Regions from separate parts of the Homo sapiens genome. Here regions 2 and 3 are each linked to region 1. Evidence: promoter capture Hi-C in human tissues and cell types (Jung and others, 2019). All regions are on one chromosome and are shown on one strand. Each heading gives the region's core, a stretch centred on a gene start or on the middle of the fragment in contact. The rest is flanking DNA. Distances are from core to core; before and after follow the strand shown.

Evidence for each region. Contacts are between HindIII fragments. The study calls those that stand out against the background at their distance.
Region 2: a contact is called between a fragment that was not itself captured here and the fragment with the promoter of TMEM171 in region 1, in 1 of the 25 tissues and cell types used here (dorsolateral prefrontal cortex).
Region 3: a fragment that was not itself captured here is called in contact with the fragment with the promoter of TMEM171 in region 1 in 1 of the 25 tissues and cell types used here (mesenchymal stem cells).

Annotation. Positions count from the first base shown.
Region 1 is chr5:73,118,927-73,122,042 of GRCh38, reverse strand. TMEM171 (transmembrane protein 171) reads right to left here and starts at 1,468. Exons shown (of 4, transcript NM_173490.8): 1 at 1,347-1,468. It overlaps LOC124901001, which reads left to right and starts at 1,552. Exons shown (of 2, transcript XM_047417978.1): 1 at 1,552-3,116. The coding sequence starts at 1,614. The coding sequence ends at 2,315. RefSeq lists an enhancer at 2,078-2,629. The HindIII fragment of the contact is 7,583 bases long and covers 1-3,116 here.
Region 2 is chr5:73,063,540-73,066,655 of GRCh38, reverse strand. It overlaps FCHO2 (FCH and mu domain containing endocytic adaptor 2), which reads right to left. Exons shown (of 26, transcript NM_138782.3): 18 at 2,712-2,815. Among named protein-coding and RNA genes, the nearest start is that of TMEM171, 55 kb to the left of the region's middle. The HindIII fragment of the contact is 3,441 bases long and covers 1-3,116 here.
Region 3 is chr5:73,083,524-73,086,639 of GRCh38, reverse strand. All of the region lies in intron 24 of FCHO2 (FCH and mu domain containing endocytic adaptor 2), which reads right to left. Among named protein-coding and RNA genes, the nearest start is that of TMEM171, 35 kb to the left of the region's middle. The HindIII fragment of the contact is 4,705 bases long and covers 1-3,116 here.

The DNA.
Region 1 (3,116 bases), core at 219-2,718:
AGTGGTTGTTAAAGAGTTGTCTAGCTTACACAGAGCTGACCTAATTATCTCGTTATCTTATTTTACTCCAATGAATGGGATATTTTACCAGGACCCCGTAAGTCAGGTCCTGCAATTGCAAAGACAATCCAAAATCGTGAAGACTATTTTCACCTGCCCAAGGAAAGAAAACTTTTAAAATATTTTGTGCCGCTCACATCCATGGTCCCATGAAGGAACTCAAGACTGAGGCCCTAAGCCCAAGATGATCTTGACAAACCAAAATCACACTGAGGGAAGGTCAGTTTAGGTAAAGAAAGCAAACAGGCAATCTTACACTGGGAAAAACTTTTCCAGGAAAAAGTATGATAGAATCAGAAGGAAGTTGGAGAAAAAAAGGAAATATAGGAGGGAAAAAAGCTTTCATTTCAAACTTGGAAAAACTTGATATACAGATGCAGTTAAGCTGAGACAAAGCATTGCACTAATTTTTTAATCTTCCCATTTTTTATTAAGTCAGTAACATCCTGCAGTGAATAAGAATTTCATATTGAGTATACAGTAGTCCTCATTTATCCTACAGGGAGTACATTCCAAAACTCTCAGTGGAATGAAACGATGGAGAGTCCTGAAACCTATATATATTGGTTTTTTGTTATTGTTGTTGTTTTAATTTTTTTCCTGAATCATGCAATCTCTTTTGCGGTTTCGGAGACAAGAAAGAGAAGGGTGATTCTCGGCTGCAAAGTCCTATCAGGAATTCATTTATTCCCAGTATAGTCAACTTTGCAGTGAGTCACAAGGCTTCAACTGTCTTAAGGCAAATTCCCAAACACCAGTAAATAGAAGCCCAAAACTGAATCTGTAGTTTCTTGTCCGTGGACTAGTGGACGGAGCACCTGGCTGAGTGTTCACCTCTGATCCATAATAGTGTGGAAATACTCTCTCTCTCTCCTTCTCCCACAGATGCACTCACAAACGGATACAAAGACACCCACATTCACTCGCAATGAAACCTTTTCCAAACACCACCCTACACTTAAACTCCCCAAAGCCAAACTCCCCTCTCCAACACTCCTATTGGTTTTCCAAAAGACATTTCCAAAATTCACAGCACCTCTCCACGTCCAAAGCTATGGTGCGTTTGGGGAACGAAACGAGAGGCAAATGCCTTCTGTGCGAAATCGGTTTGCGGCTTTTAGGGAGCCCGAGCGCAAGCAACAGCCGGAGGGGCTCGCAGGGACGCAGGTTGGGCTCGGATACCCAGCGCCTCCGCGCTGCCGCGGCTCCCCGCGCCCAGCCTGGCCGCACAGCTCAGCGCCCGACCCGCCGCCGCCGGCGCAGGCGCGCGGGCCGGGGCAGCTTACCTGAAGCTGGGTCCGGCGCCTGGCTGACCGCGCTGCTGTGGGCACTGGCTGGGCGCGGCGTCCGCCTCCGCACGCGGCCTCGGCTGCGCCGGCCGCCCTGCACCCTACCCACCGCGCGTCCTGGTGCGGAGGGCGGACCCGGCAGTATTTAGAGAAGGAGGCGGTGCTGCGCGGGCGCGGCGGCCCGGGGAGGGCAGGGCAGGGCAGTGCAGGAGCGACCGGTGGGAGCTGGCCGCCACTGGGGGCCCGGGGCGCGCCCGCGAGGGAATGGAGAGCCAGGGGCGGCTTCGGAACCCAGGGCTGGCGGGTTTGGCAGCCTCCGCGCTCGTGGCCGTGCGCGCGAGGAATCTGGGAGAAATGGGCACCTTCCACGGCTGCCTGGCCCGCACACCTGGCGGGGCCGGCGAGTTGAGATGCCCCCGCCGGCTGGCGGAACTGTGCGCCCCGCCCGCCGAGGCCCGCTCCCCCTCGAGGCCTGAGGCCCAGTTCTATAGGGGCGCGAGAGAGCGGCGGCGTGGGGGGCGCGGAGGAAGCGCCGGCCCCCGCCTCCACCGCCTCCTTCGTGGTTGCGGCCCAGGCCGAACAGGGTACCGTGCCCCGGCCGCCTTGGCCTTGGCCACCGCGAGGTCCGGGGCGACTACACCCAGCAGCCCTGTGGCCCTCCTACTGCTCTGGAGACCTGGAGTGGGGTTACAGAGGGAAGCGACTCGCTGCGAGCTCCCCATCGAATATGGAGCCACCAGGTCACGGGACGACGTGCGCTCTACAGAATGTGAGACAAGGGCCCTCCACACCCAGCCATTCAGGCCTGAGGTCCTGGCTCCGAGACTGAGGCCGAGACGCGGCAAGCCCCGCGCCGGACCAGCTCTGCCCCTCCCGCACCCACGTGTCTGCGCACAGCCCTCCTTTGCGATAGAACCCCCTTCCTGGTTCTCCACCACTAATGATCTGCCGGAATTAAACTGGTAACTTTCCCTGCCCTTGAACCGGGAGTTTCGGGATGAGTTTGCCAATCCCTGTGCTATTTGTAACCAGCCCCGTGACACGTGATACGGATCCAACTGTGCTAGTTTCCACACCAGGGGTCAGGGCACGGTGGAAGGTGAGTCAAGGGTTCTCTGCCCAAGCGCAGAGGTGCCCTGAGCCACGGGGACTTCCCAGCCCTGCCTTCTCTTCTCAGCTTCCTGTCTGCCTTGCCTGAAACCCTATCTAGAGTTAAGGCCAATGGATGAAACTTTTCAATGTGCAAGCAAGCACTTTACCTACCTGATACAACAAGAGATTCCTGGTCATGCTCACTGAAGGTAAAGTATGAAGCAGGCTTAGCTAATCATCAGAGGTGAGAAGAGACTTAAAGAACCAGTCAGAGAGGTAAAGAGGGGAGGGGGTTACCTGGGCTTTAGGGTTCACCAGGGAGGCAGAACGGACAAGTTCTTGCCATTGGAATTTGGTGGGGCACTTGCCTGGGTGGCCAAAGGTGGACTTTTTCATAGCCAGGGTGCCCGACCTCTGTAAATCCCCGCCATAACTAACAGCCCTGATTACTGTCGAAATGAACAATGCCAACACTCACGACCCCTTGCTTTGTGGTTCTTTGCTACATCTCTCCAGCAGTTCAGAAAAGGTTGGAGGCAGCAGGGGACAGGAGACTGAGAAAAACAGTCATTTGTCAGTTGAGGAAACTGAGGTCCAGGCTGACAGAGGTAAAGTAACCTCTGCAGCTGGTTGACATGCAGAGAAGGCCTGAGCCAGATGCAGATGCGCTGACCA
Region 2 (3,116 bases), core at 425-2,924, 56 kb after region 1:
TCCTTTGAGCATCTGGTGAAAGCTATGAGCTCTCTCCAGAAAAATGCACATATGAGCATGCAAAAAAAAAAAAAAAAAAAGAAAAGGCACTCCAATGTACAGCTGGAGAAAATTTAAATCAACATACTCTCTCTGGTGGGTGATACAGAAATAATCATCAAGAGTCTTAAAAATGTACATACAGTTTAGTTCATAAATTGCACTTTTAAAATTTTTTATTAAAAAAGAATGCTAAGAAACCATAAGGACAGTCATTAAGACATTGTTTATAATAACAAAAACATGGAACTAAATGTCAAATAAATTTCTGAAAACATTTAGAAATTTAATTCTGACAACGGTGTAGAAGACAGAGCACTCATATTGAAATACTCTGTAGCCACTTAAAATAGTGCTCCCTGAAGCTCAGAGGGTGGTTTCTAGAAGGCTCTCAAGGATGGGGAGAGGGTAGTGTATGGTGATATGGGGATGATGTGAAGGATTCAACTATGAGTCCCACTTTATTTTAATATATTAATACTTACAATTTAAAGTTATTTGGCAAAAGATTCTATCACTTTAAAGAAGCTTGAAGACTATGAAATAAGAATAATTCATTCAGCAACATGGATAGAACTGGAGGCCATTATCCTGAGTGAAATAACTCAGAAACAGAAAGTCAAATACCTCATGTTCTCACTTATAAGTGGGAGCTAAACAAAGGTTACACATGGACATATACAGTGGAATAACAGAGAGTGAAGACTACAAAAGGTGGGAGGATGGGAAAAGGGTAAGGGTAGAAAAATTACCTGTTGGGTACAATATTCACTACTCAGTTAATGGGTACACCAAAAGCCCAGATTCTGCCGGTATGCAATATATACATGTAAGAAATCTGCACTTGTATCCCCTAATTCTATAAATAAAATTATAATCAAAGAATAATTCATGATATAGAAAGATATTTGCAAGTAGAAAACAAATTAGAAATATGTAAAGTATGACTTTTTATTTAAAAATATGCCTATACAATTAATAATTTTTGAGCAACTATTTGCATTCAACAATATTCTGTTTTACATGTATTAACTCATTTAAGTCTCACAACCTAATATCATTACACATATTTTATCCATGAGGCAACTAAACTCTGATTAAATAACTGTTTAATGTTGCTCAGCTAATACGTGGCTAATAAGCTTGTACTTTTAACTATATTTTACTGCCTCTGGATAAACACTTATGCATTCCAAAAAATGTTAACAGTGGTTATCTTTGGGTGGTGAAATACAGAGGAAATTTATAATTTTCCTTCTCTGCTTTCTCTGTTTTCCAAATTTTATAACACGATCATTTACTGTTTTTACAATCAGGAAAAAAAAATCAATTTATTAGAATGTACTCAAAGTTCTAGTCATAACGATTTAAAAAAGAGAATGAAGTATTTTAAAATGTAGTAATTTCTATATTACTTAAATAATAACCTTCTCCTTGGCAGCTTGTACCTAGTCTTTTATTTTACTTCCACTAAGTCTGTTCATTCGGAAAAGAAAGATATCACCATTTCAATACTTGGTGCCGAAGCTTTTCAATATATTCACTGAAGATTTCATAACTGTGTACCACCCAACAGGCATCATGCAAAGTACTGAGGATATGAGACTGACGAAGGAATAGCCCAGTAAAGGTAACACACACAAAAAAAGTACATACAAGGTGATATATGAACTAACAAAAATATAAGCAAAGTATCTGGGTATAAGGAAGATAAGTGAAGGAATGATCAAAGAGGGTTTTGCCTAGGTGGTGATGTTTAGCTAGGTCTTAAAGAAAGAAGTCAATTTGTGACATAGAAAACTGAGGGGCATTTGAGATACAGCACAGGAAGAAGACATGGACATGTAAAAGACCATGATGTGTTTAAGGAACCCTGAAAAGTTTCAAGTGGCTGGAACCTAGGTTGAAAAGGGGAGAAAGATGGACAGTTAGTCTGGTAATGTAGGTTGTTGAGGCAGCTTTATAAAGACTCTTGTACATTCAGCTAAAACAGTCAACCACACAGACTGAGAAACCACTGGAAATGTGTATCAAGGGAAAAAAGATTAAACTGGACTTAGAAATTTAATTCTGGTAATTAAACTGGCAATTAGTGTAGAAGATGAAGCAAAACAAACCAGATCAAAGGCAAATAGACTGGGAGAGCCTCACTGCATAGAGTCTATAGATTTTCTCTATCTGATGACTTTTAAAAACCAATGCTTTTCCCACCCATGCATGTACTTTTATAAGTCAACTGGATGATGTGGACTCCAGTTTCCTTATGTGTAAAATTTTAAATGCTGAGCTAGATGCCTTCCATAATCCTCCTTGCAGTATACTTTTAAGGTCTAAGAACAAGCCACCATTTATTTCCTTAACATTTGACTTTAAGTAGAATTATATGAAAACCGCTTCTTTATTGTGAGACAATGGATACTGAATGGTATTTTTATAATGTGCCAACTTTCTCAGGAAATCTCTTTCCTCCTGGACAATGTCGTGTCTCACAGGTATGATCACTGTGGTAACAAGGAAGAGTAAAGGAAGCACTAGCTGGGAAAATTTTTCTATACTGTGAGGACATGGGTAGAAAACTTCAAGCAATTAACTGTAAAAGGGCATATAGAAAAATAGCATTTGCATCTTAAATCAAAACAGTTAAATAATTTTTAAAAAACCTGAGTACATACTATTTCATTAATCCCACTGAGTTTGCCTGAAGTAAGCTTTGGTCTGGAAGCAGGCCTCGGAGGTGGGACAATGGTGCCTACAGAAAGAGGAGTTGTGGGCCTGGCTGGTTGAGGGGGAAAAGAGAATTTGAAGAAAATCATTAGTATGTAGCAATCCTTACATAAAGACATTCTATTATAAAGAAACTTTTGGTAATCAAAGCTCATTTTTCAGGAGGCTCTTTTTTTAGATGTAATTATAGATGTTGAAATATTGGGAATCTATCAAATATGCTTTATTTTGAAGTGACCAGTAATATTCCTGAAAAAAAGTTAACCTTTCAATAACTGACACATATAAATTTTATTCCTGTTTCATTATCTATACATATAAAAATTAAATCTGATACATTAGCTGATGAGAAC
Region 3 (3,116 bases), core at 167-2,666, 35 kb after region 1:
ACAGTTTAGGACTCTAGATGATAGGAAAGGGGGATCTGAACTAGGGCTAATAAAAAGGAAAGATATTAAGAAAGTTATTTGAAAGATATTTAGGAGTTGGAATCAAGAAATGAGAAAGGAGGAGTCTAGGAGGGTTCCCAGGTTTCTGGATAGAGCAAATGGACAGAAATGCTAGGTACTAGCAGTAAGATCCTGTGATCCCCTGCACAGAAGCTTAACACTACACAGAGAAATGGAGAATAGGATGTCACAACATTGATCCAACTTGTATTATTATGCCTGGAGGCATAGATCAGTAGTGGAGATGAACTGCTGCCTTATTCTTAATTACTATCCAGGCCCTCAAACTTTTACAATTCTTGATAACCAATTTGGTTGTGCAAAAGTTCTACCATAGACCAAGAGCAACAACCTTGACAATCACCTTAGAAATATTTCCTGTCCCTCTTCTGAGTACACAGTCAGCAACAGAAAACAGATTTCTATTTTACAGAATTTTTTGTGTTTTTTTTTTTTGAGACAGAGTCTCTCACTCTGTTGCCTAGGCTGGAGTGCAGTGGCACGATCTTGGCTCACTGCAACCTCCGCCTCCTGGGTTCAAGCGATTCTCCTGCCTCAGCCTCCTGAGTATCTGGGATTACAGGCGCACACCACCATGCCTGGCTAATTCTGTATTTTTAGTAGAGACAGGGTTTCACCATATTGGCCAGGCTGGTCTTGAATTCCTGACCTCATGATCCACCCGCCTCAGCCTCCCAAAGTGCTGGGATTTCAGGTGTGAGCCACCGTGCCCAGCCTATTTTACAGCATTCTTATTTATTTATTTATTTATTTATTTATTTATTTATTTATTTATTTATTTTTTGAGACAGAGTCTCCCTCTAAGGCCCAAGCTGGAATACAGTGGTGCAATCTTGGCTCACTGAAACCTCTGCCTCCCAGGTTCAAGCTAGACTCGTGCCTCAGCCTCCTGAGTAACTGGGACTACAGGCACGTGCCACCACACTTGGTTAATTTTTGTATTTTTAGTAGAGGCAGGGTTTTGCCACATTGTCTAGGCTGGTCTCCAACTCCTGGCCTCAAGTGATCCACCTGCCTCAGCCTCCCAAAGTGCTGGGATTGCAGGAATGAGCCACCATGCCTGGCCTTGGATATTCTTTTCAAAGGCTTGACTAACCACATCAAAAACCACATTTATAAGATTTTTCCATTTCCTCACAGAAACACCTGATACCTGAATAGCAGAGGGAAACTTAAAATCTGGTTAGAAAATTTGTATCTCATTTTTTTATTTTTTGAGACGGAGTCTCTGCGCCAGGCTGGAGGGCAGTGGTGCGATGTTGGCTCACTGCAACCTCCACCTCCCGTGTTCAAACAATTCTCCTGCCTCAGCCTCCCGAGTAGCTGACACTACAGGCACGTGCCACTACATCCAGCTAATTTTTGTATTTTTAGTAGAGACAGGGTTTCACCATGTTGGCCAGGATGGTCTCGATCTCTTGACCTCACGATCTACCTGCCTTGGCCTCCCAAAGTGCTGGGATTACAGGCATGAGCCACTGCACCCAGCCTGTGTCTTATTTTTGAGAGAACAAATTTCTTTCTTGTTAATTATTTACAATAGTATAGTTTCATTATATTGGGGAAAAAGATCCTTTTGTCCTTCTAAACTGGTTATAAGCCCTTAATGCAAACAGGATTGCTGGTTTACTTCAATTTAAACTAGGAATTTCAGCTTGGCTCACAAAAAGCTATATATTAATAGCTAGGGTTAAAGTCAATGCAGTTGGCCAGCTGAAAGTGGGCAACCTATAAGTACCAAACAGCAAAAAAGAAACTGAAGATTTGCTTGGTTATTTCACCCAATGTATGGCTCTCCAGTAAAAGTCTTATTCTGCATGGCAGGTGTAAATGAATAAACAACACAGACATATTTACGGTCCTTTCTACAGAAATATCTATGAGAAAAGCTACTGATATGTTTTATATTATGCTCAAAATATTCAAAAAGAAAAAGCTCAGCAACATTTGAAAAGCCAAAAAACCTATCAAATAGAGGAGTTATTGGAGACTAGGCTGAGCATGGTGGCTCATGCCTGTAATCCCAGCACTTTGGGAGGCTGAGGCTGGCAGATCAACTGAGGTCAGGAGTTCAAGACCAGCCTGGCCAACATGGCGAAACCCTGTCTCTACTAAAAATACAAAAATTAGCTGGATGTGGTGGTAGGTGCCTGTAATCCCAGCTACTCGGGAGGCTGAGGCAGGAGAATTGCTTGAACCTGGGAGGCAGAGGTTGCAGTGAGCCAAGATCATGCCGCTGCACTCCAGAGTGGGCAACAGAGCAAGGCTCTGTCTCAAAAAAACAAAACAAAACAAAACAAAACCAAACCCTAAAAAAACAAGCAGAAAAGTTATTGTAGACTAAAATTATGCATTCAAAAGAAGGCAGAAGAATTCTCTTTTGATTAAGAGAAAATAAGACTATGTTAAAGACTTGGCTGTCCCAAGAATTACATCCTTATTGTAAGTTGAGTTATAGAAGTGATCAGCTAGGACAGCCTTTTCCTTGGCATTATGAACACAAACAGATGTACTTAGTGAGAGAAGCATAACTTGCTTCTCCTTAAAATAATCATCAGAAAATTGAATGCTGCTGATAGTTAGCTTTAATAGGGGGAAATGGACAGGAAAAAGGTTCTTTTAGAGAACTGCAGAAGGCAAGGGGGCTTTTTTTTTTTTTTTTTTTTGAGACAGAGTCTCACTCTGTCACCCAGGCTGGAGAGCAGGGGCACCATCTCAGCTCACTGCAACCTCCGCCTCCTTGGGTTCAAGTGATTCTCATGCTTAAGTCCCCTGAATAGCTGGAATTACAGGCGTGCACCATGACGCCCAGCTAATTTTTGTATTTTTAAAACAGATGGGGTTTCACCATGTTGGCCAGGCTGGTCTTGAACTCCTGACTTCAAGTGATCCACCCACCTCGGCCTACCAAAGTGCTGGGATTACAAGCGTGAGCCACTGTGCCGGGACGGCAAGGGGCTTTTTAAAGCCTGGAAGCGTCTACATGATTTCTGGGAGGTCAGGAGAATCCCGTTAACAGAATGAACTAAACTGTG